Linked DNA regions of Homo sapiens: all the other regions are linked to region 2. The links are contacts of gene promoters, found by promoter capture Hi-C in blood cells and fetal thymus (Javierre and others, 2016). All regions are on one chromosome and are shown on one strand. The core of a region is centred on a gene start or on the middle of the fragment in contact, and the rest is flanking DNA. Distances in the headings are between cores, read along the strand shown.

Evidence for each region. Contacts are between HindIII fragments. The CHiCAGO score rates a contact against its expected background, and 5 or more counts as called.
Region 1: a fragment that was not itself captured here is called in contact with the fragment with the promoter of GGN in region 2 in 2 of 17 cell types (neutrophils and non-activated CD4 T cells); the score reaches 6.2 in neutrophils.
Region 3: the fragment with the promoter of DPF1 here is called in contact with the fragment with the promoter of GGN in region 2 in 1 of 17 cell types (megakaryocytes); the score reaches 5.6 in megakaryocytes.
Region 4: a fragment that was not itself captured here is called in contact with the fragment with the promoter of GGN in region 2 in 10 of 17 cell types (monocytes, M2 macrophages, activated CD4 T cells and 7 more); the score reaches 7.7 in monocytes.

The regions. Positions count from the first base shown.
Region 1 is chr19:38,589,344-38,592,590 of GRCh38, reverse strand. The region is part of intron 30 of MAP4K1 (mitogen-activated protein kinase kinase kinase kinase 1); the gene reads left to right. Among named protein-coding and RNA genes, the nearest start is that of MAP4K1-AS1, 5.4 kb to the left of the region's middle. The HindIII fragment of the contact is 6,157 bases long and covers 1-3,247 here.
Region 2 is chr19:38,386,622-38,389,717 of GRCh38, reverse strand. It overlaps GGN (gametogenetin), which reads left to right and starts at 1,684. Exons shown (of 4, transcript NM_152657.4): 1 at 1,684-1,743; 2 at 1,896-1,957; 3 at 2,438-3,096. The coding sequence starts at 2,457. SPRED3 (sprouty related EVH1 domain containing 3) reads right to left here and starts at 1,021. Exons shown (of 6, transcript NM_001394336.1): 1 at 911-1,021. RefSeq lists silencers at 1-189, 1,649-1,888. The HindIII fragment of the contact is 15,577 bases long and covers 1-3,096 here.
Region 3 is chr19:38,222,972-38,225,919 of GRCh38, reverse strand. DPF1 (double PHD fingers 1) reads left to right here and starts at 1,698. Exons shown (of 12, transcript NM_001135155.3): 1 at 1,698-1,806. The coding sequence starts at 1,778. RefSeq lists a silencer at 1,364-1,933. The HindIII fragment of the contact is 14,724 bases long and covers 1-2,948 here.
Region 4 is chr19:38,539,505-38,542,473 of GRCh38, reverse strand. The region is part of intron 84 of RYR1 (ryanodine receptor 1); the gene reads right to left. Among named protein-coding and RNA genes, the nearest start is that of MAP4K1-AS1, 55 kb to the left of the region's middle. The HindIII fragment of the contact is 8,158 bases long and covers 1-2,969 here.

The DNA of each region.
Region 1 (3,247 bases), core at 302-2,801, 200 kb before region 2:
TTTAAAATTTATTTTTGACACAGAGTCTCGCTGTGTTGCCCAGGCTGGAGTGCAGTGGCACAATCTCAGCTCACTGCAACCTCTGCCTCCCAGGTTCAAGTGATTCTCATGCTTCAGCCTCCCAAGTAGCTGGGTTTACAGGTGTGTACCACCACATTTGGCTATTTTTTGTATTTTTAGTAGAGACGGGGTTTCGCCTTGTTAGCCAGGCTGGTCTCAAACTACTGACCTCAGGTGATCCAGCTGCCTTGGCCTCCCAAAGTTCTGGGATTACAGGAGTGAGCCACTGCACCTGGCCTTAATTTTATTTCATTTTTGAGACAAGGTCTCATTCTGTTGCGCAGGCTGAAGTGCAGTGTTACACACACAGCTCACTGCAGTCTTGACCTTCTGAGCTCAACTGATCCTCCCACCTCAGCCTCCCAAGTAGCTAGGTCCACAGGCATACACCACCACAACTGGCTAATTTTTAAAATTTTTTTGTAGAGACGGGGTCTTGCCATGTTGCCCTGGCTGTCCTTGAACTGCTGGCCTCAAGCAATCTTCCTACCTTGGCCTCCCAAAATGTTAGGATTACTGGCATGAGCCACCACACCTGGCTGCATTTTTTTTTTTTTTTTGAGACGGATTCTTGCTCTGTTGCCCAGCCTGGAATGCGGTGGCGTGATTTCAGCTCACCACAACCTCCACCCACTGGGTTCACGCGATTCTCCTGCCTCAGCCTCCCGAGTAACTGGGATTACAGGCATGTGCCACTGTGCCCGGCTAATTTTTGTATTTTTAGTAGAGACAGGCTTTCGCCATGTTGTCCAGGCTGCTCTTGAACCCCTGATCTCAGGTGATCTGCCCGCCTCGGCCTCCCAAAGTGCTGGGACTACAGGCATGAGCCACCGTGCCCAGCCCTGGCTGCATTTTTATTTTAGATTTTTATCTTATTAAAAATTTTTAACTATTAAAAATAACTATTTTAACTATTTTGACATAATTTAAAACTCACACTCCCAGAGAAGTTGCAAAAATCCCTTTTATCCAGATTAACCAGATCTTTTTTTTTTTTTTTTTTTGAGATGGAGTCTTGCTGTGTGGCCCAGGCTGGAGTGCAGTGGATCTCCACTCACTGCAACCTCTGCCTCCCGGGTTCAGGCAAGTCTCCTGTCTCAACCTCCTGAGTAGCTGGGACTACAGTTGCACACCACCACGCCCAGCTAATTTTTTTGTTTTTTTAGTAGATGTGGGCTTTCATCATGGTGGTTAGGCTGGTCTCGAACTCTTGACCTCAGGTGATCCACCCACCTCTGCCTCCCAAAGTGCTGGGATTACAGGCGTGAGCCACTGTACCTGGCCAGATGTTAATCTTTTTAACCGCATTTGCCTTATTATTCTTTTTTTTTTCTTTTCTTGAGACAGAGTTTCGCTCTTGTTGCCCAGGCTGGAGTGCAATGGCATAATCTCAGCTCACCACAACCTCCCACTCCTGGGTTCAAGCACTCCTCCTGCCTCAGCCTCCCGAGTAGCTGGGATTACAGGCATGTGCCACCATGCCCGGCCTCTTCTCTTTCTTATGCGCACACACCACACATACAAGTATATGTGTGTGTGTGTGTGTGTGTGTGTGTGTGTGTGTGATTTTTTAATGAATATTTGGGAATGAATTGCAGACGTGATGCCCATTTACCCCTAAAATACTTCAGTGTATGTTTCCTGAATCAAAGCAAGGACATAATGTTACAAACCACAGCACAGCTGTCAAAATCAAGAAAACAACACTGAAACATCACAACCTTCTAATTCATACCCCTACTCAATTTCACCAGTTGGCCAGGTGTGGTGGCTCACGCCTGTCATCCCAGCACTTTGGGAGGCTGAAGTGGGCAGATTACCTGAGGTCAGGAGTTGGAGATGGGCCTGGCCAACATGGAGAAACCCCACCTCTAGTAAAAATACAAAAATTAGCTGGGTGTGGTGGCACGTGCCTGTAATCCCAGCTGGGAGGCTGAGGCAGGAGAATCACTTGAATCGGAGAGGTGGAGGTTGCAGTGAGCCGAGATTACGCCACTGCACTCCAGCCTGGGTGACAGAGCGAGACTCTGTCTCAGAAAACAACAACAACAACAACAAAAAATTTCACCCGTTGTCCTAGTGACGCCCGTGATTATATATATATATATATATATATATATATATATATATATATATTTTTTTTTTTTTTTTTTTTTTCTGGTCCAAGATCATAGGTGGCACTTAGGAGCCATGTTTCTTTATAATTAAGCCGGAAAAAATAATTAAAACTTCTTTTGTCTTAAAGGAGCTTTGACCTTTTTAAAAATTAAAGGAAATTTGTTTTCTAAAATGTCCCTTAACTGTGTTTGAGGTTTCCACGTTCTGAATTTTGGGCAGGAATACTGCAGAAAGATGTCTTTCTCAGTGCATCATTTCAGGAAGTACACAATGCTAGTTTGTCCCATTACTGGTGATATTAACTTCGGTCATTTGGTTAAGGTAGAATCAGCCAGTTCTCTCCACTGTGAAGTTGCTTTTTTCTCCCTTTTTCTTTTTTTTTAAAGATAGATTCTCTCTCTGTCACCCTGGCTGGAGTGCAGTGACGCGATCATGGCTCACTGCAGCCTCGACCTCCTGGGTTCAATCAGTCCTCCCACCTCAACCTCCCGGGTAGCTGGGATGACAGGCGCGTACCACTACACCTGGCTTATTTTCGTATTTTTTGTACAGACAGGGTTTCGCCATGTTACTTAGCCTGGTCTGGAACTCCTGGACTCAAGAGATTCACCTGTGTAGGCTTCCCAAAGTGCTGGGCTTATAGGCAGGGGTCACCGCACCCAGCCTCTGTTTTTCTTTGTAATAAGAAGTATCCCACCGGTCGGGCGCGGTGGCTCACGCCTGTAATCCCAGCACTTTGGGAGGCCGAGGCAGGTGGATCACCTGAGGTCGGGAGTTTGAGACCAGCCTGACCAATGTGGAGAAACCCTGTCTCTACTAAAAATACAAAATTAGCCGGGCATGGTGTTGCATGCCTGTAATCCCAGCTACTCGGGAGGCTGAGGCAGGAGAAGCGCTTGAACCCGGGAGGCGGAGGTTGCAGTGAGCCGAGATCGCGCCATTGCACTCCAGCCTGGGCAACAAGAGTGAACTCTGTCTCAAAAAAAAAAAAAGAAGTATCTTTTGGGGAGATTCACTGAGACGAGGTAAATAGTCTGTAAATACGTTGTTTCTCATCAGATTTTCACCC
Region 2 (3,096 bases), core at 435-2,934:
GATGGGCAGGGAACAGGGAGAGAACCAGAAATGGCCAGAAAGAGAGGCTCAGAGGGAGACGGAGGCAGAGGAAGTCAGAAACGGGCGACCGAAGACACATCCAGAGAGCATTTCATTCACAAAAATCAAGGCTGCTCCCCCAGGCCCCAGCCGAGGGAAGCCAGGGGGGAAAGATGGGATGGGGGGGCAGATTGATCCTTCCTCCCTCTTCCCTTCCCGCCCCCCAGCCCCAGCATCCTTCAGAACCATTTTACCCCGCCCCCCAGCTCAGAGGACGTAGCCCTCCGCCCAGTAATCGGGATCAGTGTCCAGCCCTTCACTGCCATCCAGCACAGGGACCCTGGCGTCCCAACCTTAGGGACCCGGACGAGCTCTAGCCCCCTCCCCCACCTGCAGGCTGCTGGGTTTCCCGGGCCCTTCAGGAGGGGAAGGGGCGGCTGCAGCGCCCCCAGCCCCCTTTTCTCAATGGGATGGGATTTTGTGAATGAGCAGTCACGTGACGCTGCTTCCTTTGTCCGCCCGCCTCCCCCGACAACAGGTGAAGCAGGGAATGAGAGCAGGGGTCCCCCCAGGGCCTAGCTGGAATGGGGCACTGGCATTTCAGGGTGGCCTACGCTCCCCACACATCCTGTGTCCCCCGGGGGGAGTGGTCCTCAGCGTTCCTCAACGGTGAGGGTCCAGGACGGAATTTTGTGAATGGGGCATCCTCGGAGAAAGTCCAGACCCCACAAATGAAGACTGGTACCCTGAATGGCTGCCGCGCAGTTTGGGGGGTCCCCACTCTCTAGTCCTCCTAGCCGGGGCCTTGGGGGCGCCTGGGTGGGCAGAAGGCGCAGCGCGGTCACGGCCGCCCCCTCATCGGGGCAGGCAGTCTGTCAGCCCCCGCCCCCTCGCCCCCCTCGGCACCTGCCTGCGAGGCTCCGGCCGGGCTCCGAGCGGCGGCGACGCGGCCTCCTCCTCCTCCTTTTCGTTCCGGCTCCCTGGCTGGCTCCGGCGGCGCTGGAGACGGGCACCGGGAGCCGGGGCGAGGGGGGAGGGAGGGGGAACCTGGAAGACGGGTGGGGGGGGAAGGGGCGGCTTGGGGGAGGGGTAAGAGCGAGGCGGGCTTACTTGCCTGCTGGGTCCTAGAGCCCGGCACTAGCTCCAGAGAGCAACCCCCCAGCCCCCATTTTCTTAAGATCCAGAGGGGATCCCCCACTTTTCCACCCATCTGCGCCATTGGTCTCTAATGCTATGAGGAGGGGACGGGGCAGGGACAGGGACTGGTCTCAAGGTTCTAAAGAGGTGGTGGTCTACGCTGTGGCTTGGGTGCCTGGCAGAGTTCGATAAGGGGTGGGGCGAGAGGGGAGCCTTCACAAGTGGGTGGGGTTGGAGGGCCTGGGTATAAGGAGGTTTGGATGCTGCAGGCGAGGACTAGTGCGTGCGTCACGAAGGGGCGGGCCCACGGTGGATGGGCCTTCTCGGCGCCCGGGGGGAAGGAGAGGGTCTTGAGAAGCGATGTTGCCGGGTCTTAAAAAGGCGGAGCTTAGAGGTAAATTGCCTTAGGGGCGGGGCAGATGAGAGGTCCAAAGGGGAGGAGCGACGCATCGGTGTTCGCGTGGGCGGGGCCTCGGGAGGGAATGAGAGGGGCGGGACATTCTAAAGGGGAGGGGCTAAGGAGAACAACCCAAAGGGGTGGAGCTTAGAACCAGAAGGCCTGGGGGCGAGGAACAAGACCTCGGAGTATTTCAAGGGGAGACCTAGGTTCGTAAGGGGCCGGGCTCCCGCGGGCTCGCAGGAGGGCGGGGCCTCGAGCTCCGGGGGCGGGGCCTACATCTCGGGGTCCGCCCTAGTTGTCTCGCCCACTTGCCTTCACCCGCACCCCCGTTCTTTTCGGTTATTTTCTGCTACGGCAGTTCCCTGCCCTGCCCCGGGCCCAGGGCGCCGCGGTCTGAACTCTGCTCGGCTGGAGGACTCGGTGAGTGGGTTCCTCTGGGGGGAGGCGGGGCCAGGGCGGAGCTTGGGGACAGGGGTGGAGCTTGACTGTGGATGCCAGCTAGTAGACCTGGAGCGGGAAGAGGTTTAGGGGTGAGGCCTGAGGATCTGCCCCTGCCTGGGAAGAGGGCGGGACCCAGGTGCTCTAGAGAGAGGCGGGGAGTCGGAGAGTTAGAGGAGAGGACTGAGGGATCAGCATGACCAGCCAAGGGGACAGGCATGGAACCTTAGTACATAATGGGGCTGGTAGTGAAGTATCTTAACAGCAGCTGTGTTGGGGACATGGGCAAGAAGGCGTGAGTGTCGAAGGTCGGGGAACAGGAGTGCGACCTAAGGACTTGGGCCTGATCGGATCTTGGAGAACAGGGGCGGGGCCGGTGCGGACGCATTAGATCAAGTACAGCCAGCCTCGTAGGGTCCCCACGGCCCTGGCAGGCTGACTGGAGTAAATTTTTCTGACTAGTCTCCGAGCTCCGTCAGAAATGGGGAACTTGCAGTCGGAGCCATCCGCGGGCGGGGGCTCCCGAAAAGTGCAGCCCTCGGACCGCGCCCCCGACTCCCGCCGGACGTCCCTGGTGGAGCCCGAGATGACCTCCCAGGCCATGCGCCTGACTCGTGGGCTGGGTGTCTGGTTCCCTGGCAGCGCCACACCCCCGGGACTCATGGTACCCCGGGAGCCCCAGGCCTCACCCTCGACCCTGCCCCTCACCTTAGAACGGCCCTCTCCAGTGATGCCCCCTCCTGAAGAGGCGGCCGCGGTCTCTGCACCACCCCCGGCCCCCGCGGGGACTCTGCTGCCCGGCCCGTCTAAATGGCAAAAGCCCGCGGGCACTCCAGTTCCCCGGATCCGCCGCCTGCTGGAGGCGAGCCATCGCGGCCAGGGCGACCCTCCGAGCCTCCGCCCGCTGAAGCCGCCGCCGCCGCCCCGGCAACTATCCGTGAAGGACACTGTCCCGAGGGCCCCATCCCAATTTCCGCCGCCCCTGGAGACTTGGAAGCCGCCACCACCATTACCTTCTGAACGGCAGCCGGCGGACCGCAGAATCACTCCTGCTCTGGCCACACCCGCCTCACCCCCGACAGAAAGCCAGGCTGGGCCCCGCAACCAGGGCCAGACGGCCG
Region 3 (2,948 bases), core at 449-2,948, 160 kb after region 2:
TACTGAGCATCTATTTTTTTTTTTTTTTTTGGAGACAGGGTCTTGCTCAGTTGTCCAGGCTGGAGTGTAGTGGTGTGATCATAGCTCACTGCAGCTTCGATCTCCTGGGTTCAACCAATCCTCCTGACTCAGCCTCCTGAGTAGCTGGGACCATAGGCATGTGCCACCATGCCCAGCTATTTATTTTTTTTTTAGTAGAGACCAGGTCTCGCTATGTTGCCCAGGCTGTTCTCCTGAGCTCAAGCGGTCCTCTCATCTCAGCCTCCCAGATTGCTGGGATTACAGGCATGAGTCACGGCGCCCTGCTTACTTAGTTTTTTGTTTGTTTGTTTGTTTGTTTGTTTGCTTTTAGAGACAGAGTCTCGCTCTGCCACCCAGGCTGGAGTGCAGTGGTGAGACCACAGCTCACTGCAGCCTCAGCCTCCCAGGTTCAAGCTATCCTCCCACTTTAGCCTTGCAAGTAGCTGGGACTACACTGCTGCGCCATCATGCCCAGCTAATTTTAATTTTTTTTTGTAGACACAGGGGTCTGGATATGTTGCCCAGGTTGGTCTCAAACTCCTGGGCTCAAGCAGTGCTCTCATCTAGGCCTCCCGAAGTACTGGGATTGCAGACTGGAGCCATCGCACCTGGCCGCATTATTCTTTCTTTCTTATTATTTATTTATTTATTTTTGAGAGGGAGTCTCACTCTTGTTGCCCAGGCTGGAGTGCAATGGCACGATCTCAGCTCACTGCAACCTCCACCTCCTGAGTTCAAGTGATTCTCCTGCCTCAGCCTCCTGAGTGGGGGAGTATAAGCATGCGCCACCATGCCCGGCTAATTTTGTATTTTTAGTAGAGACTACTACCATGTTGGCCAGGCTGGTCTCGAACTCCCATCCTCAGGTGATCCACCTGCCTGGGCCTCCCAAAGTGCCGGGATTACAGGTGTGAGCCACTGCGCCTGGCCTGCCAGTCACCTCTTAAAATGCTTTACCTATATTTACTCATTTAATCCTCACAACACTCCAGTGAGGCATCATCCTCTTTTTACAGATGAGGAAACTGAGGCCCAGAAAGGTTAAGTCATTTGCCAAGGTCACATGGCCACCAAGTGGCAGAGCTAGGATTTGAACCCTGGAGGTGTGACTACTGTTTCTAACCTGCACTGCTGCTGTCAGGCCTGCAGAAGGCGTTGAGCAGGGCGGGGTGACCGTGAGCGTGGCTGCTGGGAGAGACAGCCCCGGGTGGGGTCTCTGGAGCCAGGAGGGACTTGGGTGGGGGGCGGTGAGGGGGTGTCTGCTGGAAGCATGTTGGTGAGAAGTCTGTGTGGGCACCTGGGAGGTGTCTCTGCGTCTCTTAGTATTGCAGTGTGTGTGCGTGTGGCTGTGTGAGTCCGTGCGAAGGTGTGTGAGTAGGAGTGTGTGGGAGGCTGTGAGTATCCGCGTGAATGTGTGTGTAAACTGCCATGCGTGGGCGTGTGCGAGTCCAGGTGTGCATGTGGTTGTGTGCACGCGAGAGCAGGATATGTGGACGAGTGAGGGCGGGTGAGTGACGGTGCGTGCCCCGGGCCCCTCCTCCGCGCCGTCCCGTCCCCGCGGGGTCCCGGGGGCCCCCTGGCCTGGGACTACCACTCCCAGCATGGCCCGGGCGGGCCCGCCCCGTCGCCGCGATTGGCCGTGGCCCTCGTGCTCCCGCCCCCCGGGAATGAATGGATGGGCGGCCTCAGCGCCCGCCCGACCGCTGGGAGGACCGACCCGGCGGGGACCTGCTGGGGGCAGGACCCGGGGAGCAAGATGGCCACTGTCATCCCTGGCCCCCTGAGGTGGTGCGGGCCGGCGGGAGGCGGAGAGGAAGCGCGGGCGGGTCTACGCGGGCCTGTGTGTGTGTGGCGACCGGGGGTGGGGCCGAAGGGGTGTCTGGGGGGCTGTCACCGAGTGCGGGGCTGCGCGGGGGTGCGAGAGTGTGTGACTGTGGGTCTCTGACAAGAATGGTGTCGGATGCACCGCTCCCTGGCGGGGTGGAGGGCGTGGGGGGCCTCCAGATTCTTTTTGGGGAAGGGAGACATCATCCCTTCCCTGCAACCCTCGGGTCTGGGAGAGACTGAAATGACCCGGGGGTGCGGGGGCCTTGGCAACTGGAGTGAAGTCCACACTACCTTTGTCTTGGGATGTGGAGTGTGTGTGTGTATCACTTATTTGTGTTCTGGTTTTTTTAAGAATTTTTGGGGGATAGGTGTGTGGACATGTGTCTGTTTCCTTTTATTCTGCACTAGATATCTTTGGATATTTGGGTCTCCCAGTGTGTGTCCGTGTCCTTTGGAACTATATGTCATTTGTCTTGTGTTCTGTGTTTTTGGGTATGTAGGGCTGCGTGTATTTGTGTGTAAATTTTTGTGTGACTATGGGTGGATTTGGCTGTTTCTGTGTTTTATATGTGTGTGTGTCTGTGTGGATGTGTGATATTTTAGATACTGGTTGCGCATCGTGCATCTTTGTAAATGTGTGTGTGTACCTGTGTGAATCTGTGTGATTTCTTTGTGTTGTGTGTCTGGATATTGTGTGTGTGGTTTGTGTTGTGTCTTTGGATACATGGGTAAGTGCCTAGGGGCGCAAGTGGTTTCTGTAGTTCCTGTCTTTTGACATGCTTGTGTCTTTGGATGCATGAGGGGGTGTATGTGTGTGTGGTGTGATGTTTCCATGTTGTGTGTCTTTGTGTGGGTGATGTGTTTCTGGTGTGTGTCTGTGGATATGTGATGTGTCTTTGTGCATGGTTATTTGTGTGATTTGTCTCCACACTATGGAACTTGGGATATTTGTCTTTTTCAGTAGATATTTATGTGTGCACGTGTGTGAGGTTTGTCTGTTTCTCCTTTGTGAGTATTGGGATTTGTCTCTCTTTGTGTGTGAATCCCGTGTGACTGTGTGTGATTTGTGTTGTGTGTCTGCATGTGTTCAGGTAGGGATA
Region 4 (2,969 bases), core at 143-2,642, 150 kb before region 2:
ATGTGGTGGAGCGTCATTTATTCATTCAGTTTTTTCCAACAAATTTGTATATTGACCACCAACTATGTAGCAGGGAGAAATAGAGATTCAGTTCCTCGTTAGTTTCCAAACAATTTTATCAAATTCCTCCTATGTGCTGGGGATATTCATGCATTTATCCAACAAATATTTATTGAGCACCTACTAAAGGCCAGGGAACATATGGATTGGTCACTTGTTCATTTATTCAACATATTTTATTGAGTGTATACTACATCCTCACGAGATTAAGATTGTCACATCCTCTTTGCTACAACAAATTTGTTGCGTTCTTACTATGTGTCATGCAGTATTCTAGGCTCTGGGGATACAGTAGTAAAAAAAAAAAAAACAGTCCCCGGCCTTGGGGGGGATTTTTTTTTTTTTTTGACAAGGTCTCCCTCTGTTGCCTAGGTTGGAGTACTGTGGCATGATCATAGCTCACTGCAGCCTTGACCTCCTGGGTTCAAGTGGTCCTCCCACCTCAGCCTCCCAGGTAGCTGGAACTATAGGTGTGAGCCACCACATCCGGCCAATTTTTAATTTTTTTGTTGAGACCAGCCCAGGCTGGTCTCGAACTCCTGGCCTCAAGCAACCCTCCTACCTTGACCTCCCATAGTGCTGGGATTACAGACATGAGCCGTATGTCCAGCCCCTGCCCTTGTGAAGTTTATATTCTTGTGCAGTAATTTTTTAATCTTTTCTGACTGCAATCTATGGTAGGAAATCCTTTTTTTTTTGAGATACAGTCTTGCTCTGTCACCCAGGCTGGAGTGCAGTGGCATGATCTCAGTTCACTGCAAACTCTGCCTCCCAGGTTCAAGCAATTCTCCTGCCTCAGCCTCCTGAGTAGCTGGGATTACAGGCATGCGCCACCACGCCCGGCTAATTTTTTTGCATTTTTAGTAGAGACAGGGTTTCACCATATTGGACAGGCTGGTCTCCAACTCCTGACCTTGTGATCCACCTGCCTCGGCCTCCCAAAGTGCTGGGATTACAGGTGTAAGCCACCACACCCAGCCGAGGAAATCCTTTTTACATTGAGACCTGATACATGTGTTCAATCTGAAATTATATTCACCTATTCCCGAAAGAGAAGTTTCACATTGCCTTACTCTGTGCCATGCATTCTGTTCTTTTCTGTCCTGTACTGCTCTAGTTAACTACAAAAGAAGAAGTGTGTGCTTCTCATCCTCTCAACCTTGGCTGCACATCAGGACAACTAGGAGGCTTTTAAAAACCCCAGTGCTCAGGCCCAACCCCAGATCAATTGAATTAGAACCTGTAAAGGCAAAACCTGGGCTTAAGTCTCTTTTAAAGCTCCCCAGGCATGCCAGTGTACAATTACAATGAGAACCTCTGCGTGAAACTGATTCATGAACGTCTGTCTGATGGGTTGGTTCCCACTATTTAAAAAACATTGTTCTGTGAAAGCAAACTGTTAAAGCTGAGTGATGGGTAGTTGGGGGTTTATTATACTGTAATATATGATTGGAGGTTTATTACACTGTAGTATATGATTGGAGGTTTATTACACTGTAGTATATGATTGGAGGTTTATTACACTGTAGTATATGATTGGAGGTTTATTACACTGTAGTATATGATTGGAGGTTTATTACACTGTAGTATATGATTGGAGGTTTATTACACTTTAGTATATGATTGGAGGTTTATTACACTGTAGTATATGATTGGAGGTTTATTACACTGTAGTATATGATTGGAGGTTTATTACACTGTAGTATATGATTGGAGGTTTATTACACTGTAGTATATGATTGGAGGTTTATTACACTGTAGTATATGATTGGAGGTTTATTACACTGTAGTATATGATTGGAGGTTTATTACACTGTAGTATATGATTGGAGATTTATTACACTGTAGTATATGATTGGAGGTTTATTACACTGTAGTATATGATTGGAGGTTTATTACACTGTAGTATATGATTGGAGGTTTATTATACTGTAGTATATGATTGGAGGTTTATTATACTGTAGTATATGATTGGAGGTTTATTATACTGTAGTATATGATTGGAGGTTTATTATACTGTAGTATATGATTGGAGGTTTATTATACTGTAGTATATGATTGGAGGTTTATTATACTGTAGTATATGATTTTTTTTTTTTTTGGTAGAGACAGGGTCTCCTTATGTTGCCCAGACTTGTCTTGAACTGCTGGGCTCAAGTGATCCTCCTGCCTCAGCCTCCTAAAGTGCTGGGATTACAGGCATGAGCCACAGTGCCCAGCCAAGTCCTTTTAAATGTTTATAGCAACATCATGTTGCACAGGAAGGTTTTAACAGCCCCTGAAAGTATTTTTGCCCCCCGTTTTTCTTTCCCCTTAACTTTTTTACAGTCAGTTCACAATTGCTCTATCAGGTTGGCTCAACAGAAGGCCCATTTTGCCTAGTTTCATGACATAGACAAAGCATACTCAAATATTCAAAATTTTATAAGCAAAGGTACAGGTTTTCCCATCAACCCTGCTTTCTAACTCCTTTATTTGTGTTAATTTAAATTGTTAAATTAAATTGTGTTAATTTAAATTGGGCTATATGCAAAAATAAAAGATACACAGCTCCTGTAAAAAAAATTCTGGCAACTGACAACACCTGTTATAGACATGTGCAAATAAGTGAGAGACAAACCTTTTGTCTGCTTTGAATAGCACTGACTCCTCAAGACATGCAAGGGGTCTGAGATTTGAAAGATATTTCAAATATCTATTTGATTAGGTCATGAATTTAGGCGAGGACTGGGTTGCAAATATGTTGGGAGACAGCAATCCCTTTCATAACAACATTCTCATTTTCAAAACTTCATATTCCTGAGGAATAAAATTTATTTTAAACCCAAAGACTGATTCCATCTTAGTTAAAATTAAAGAATGAAAATCTTAGTCCCGGCTGGGTATGGTGGCTCACACCTGTAATCCCA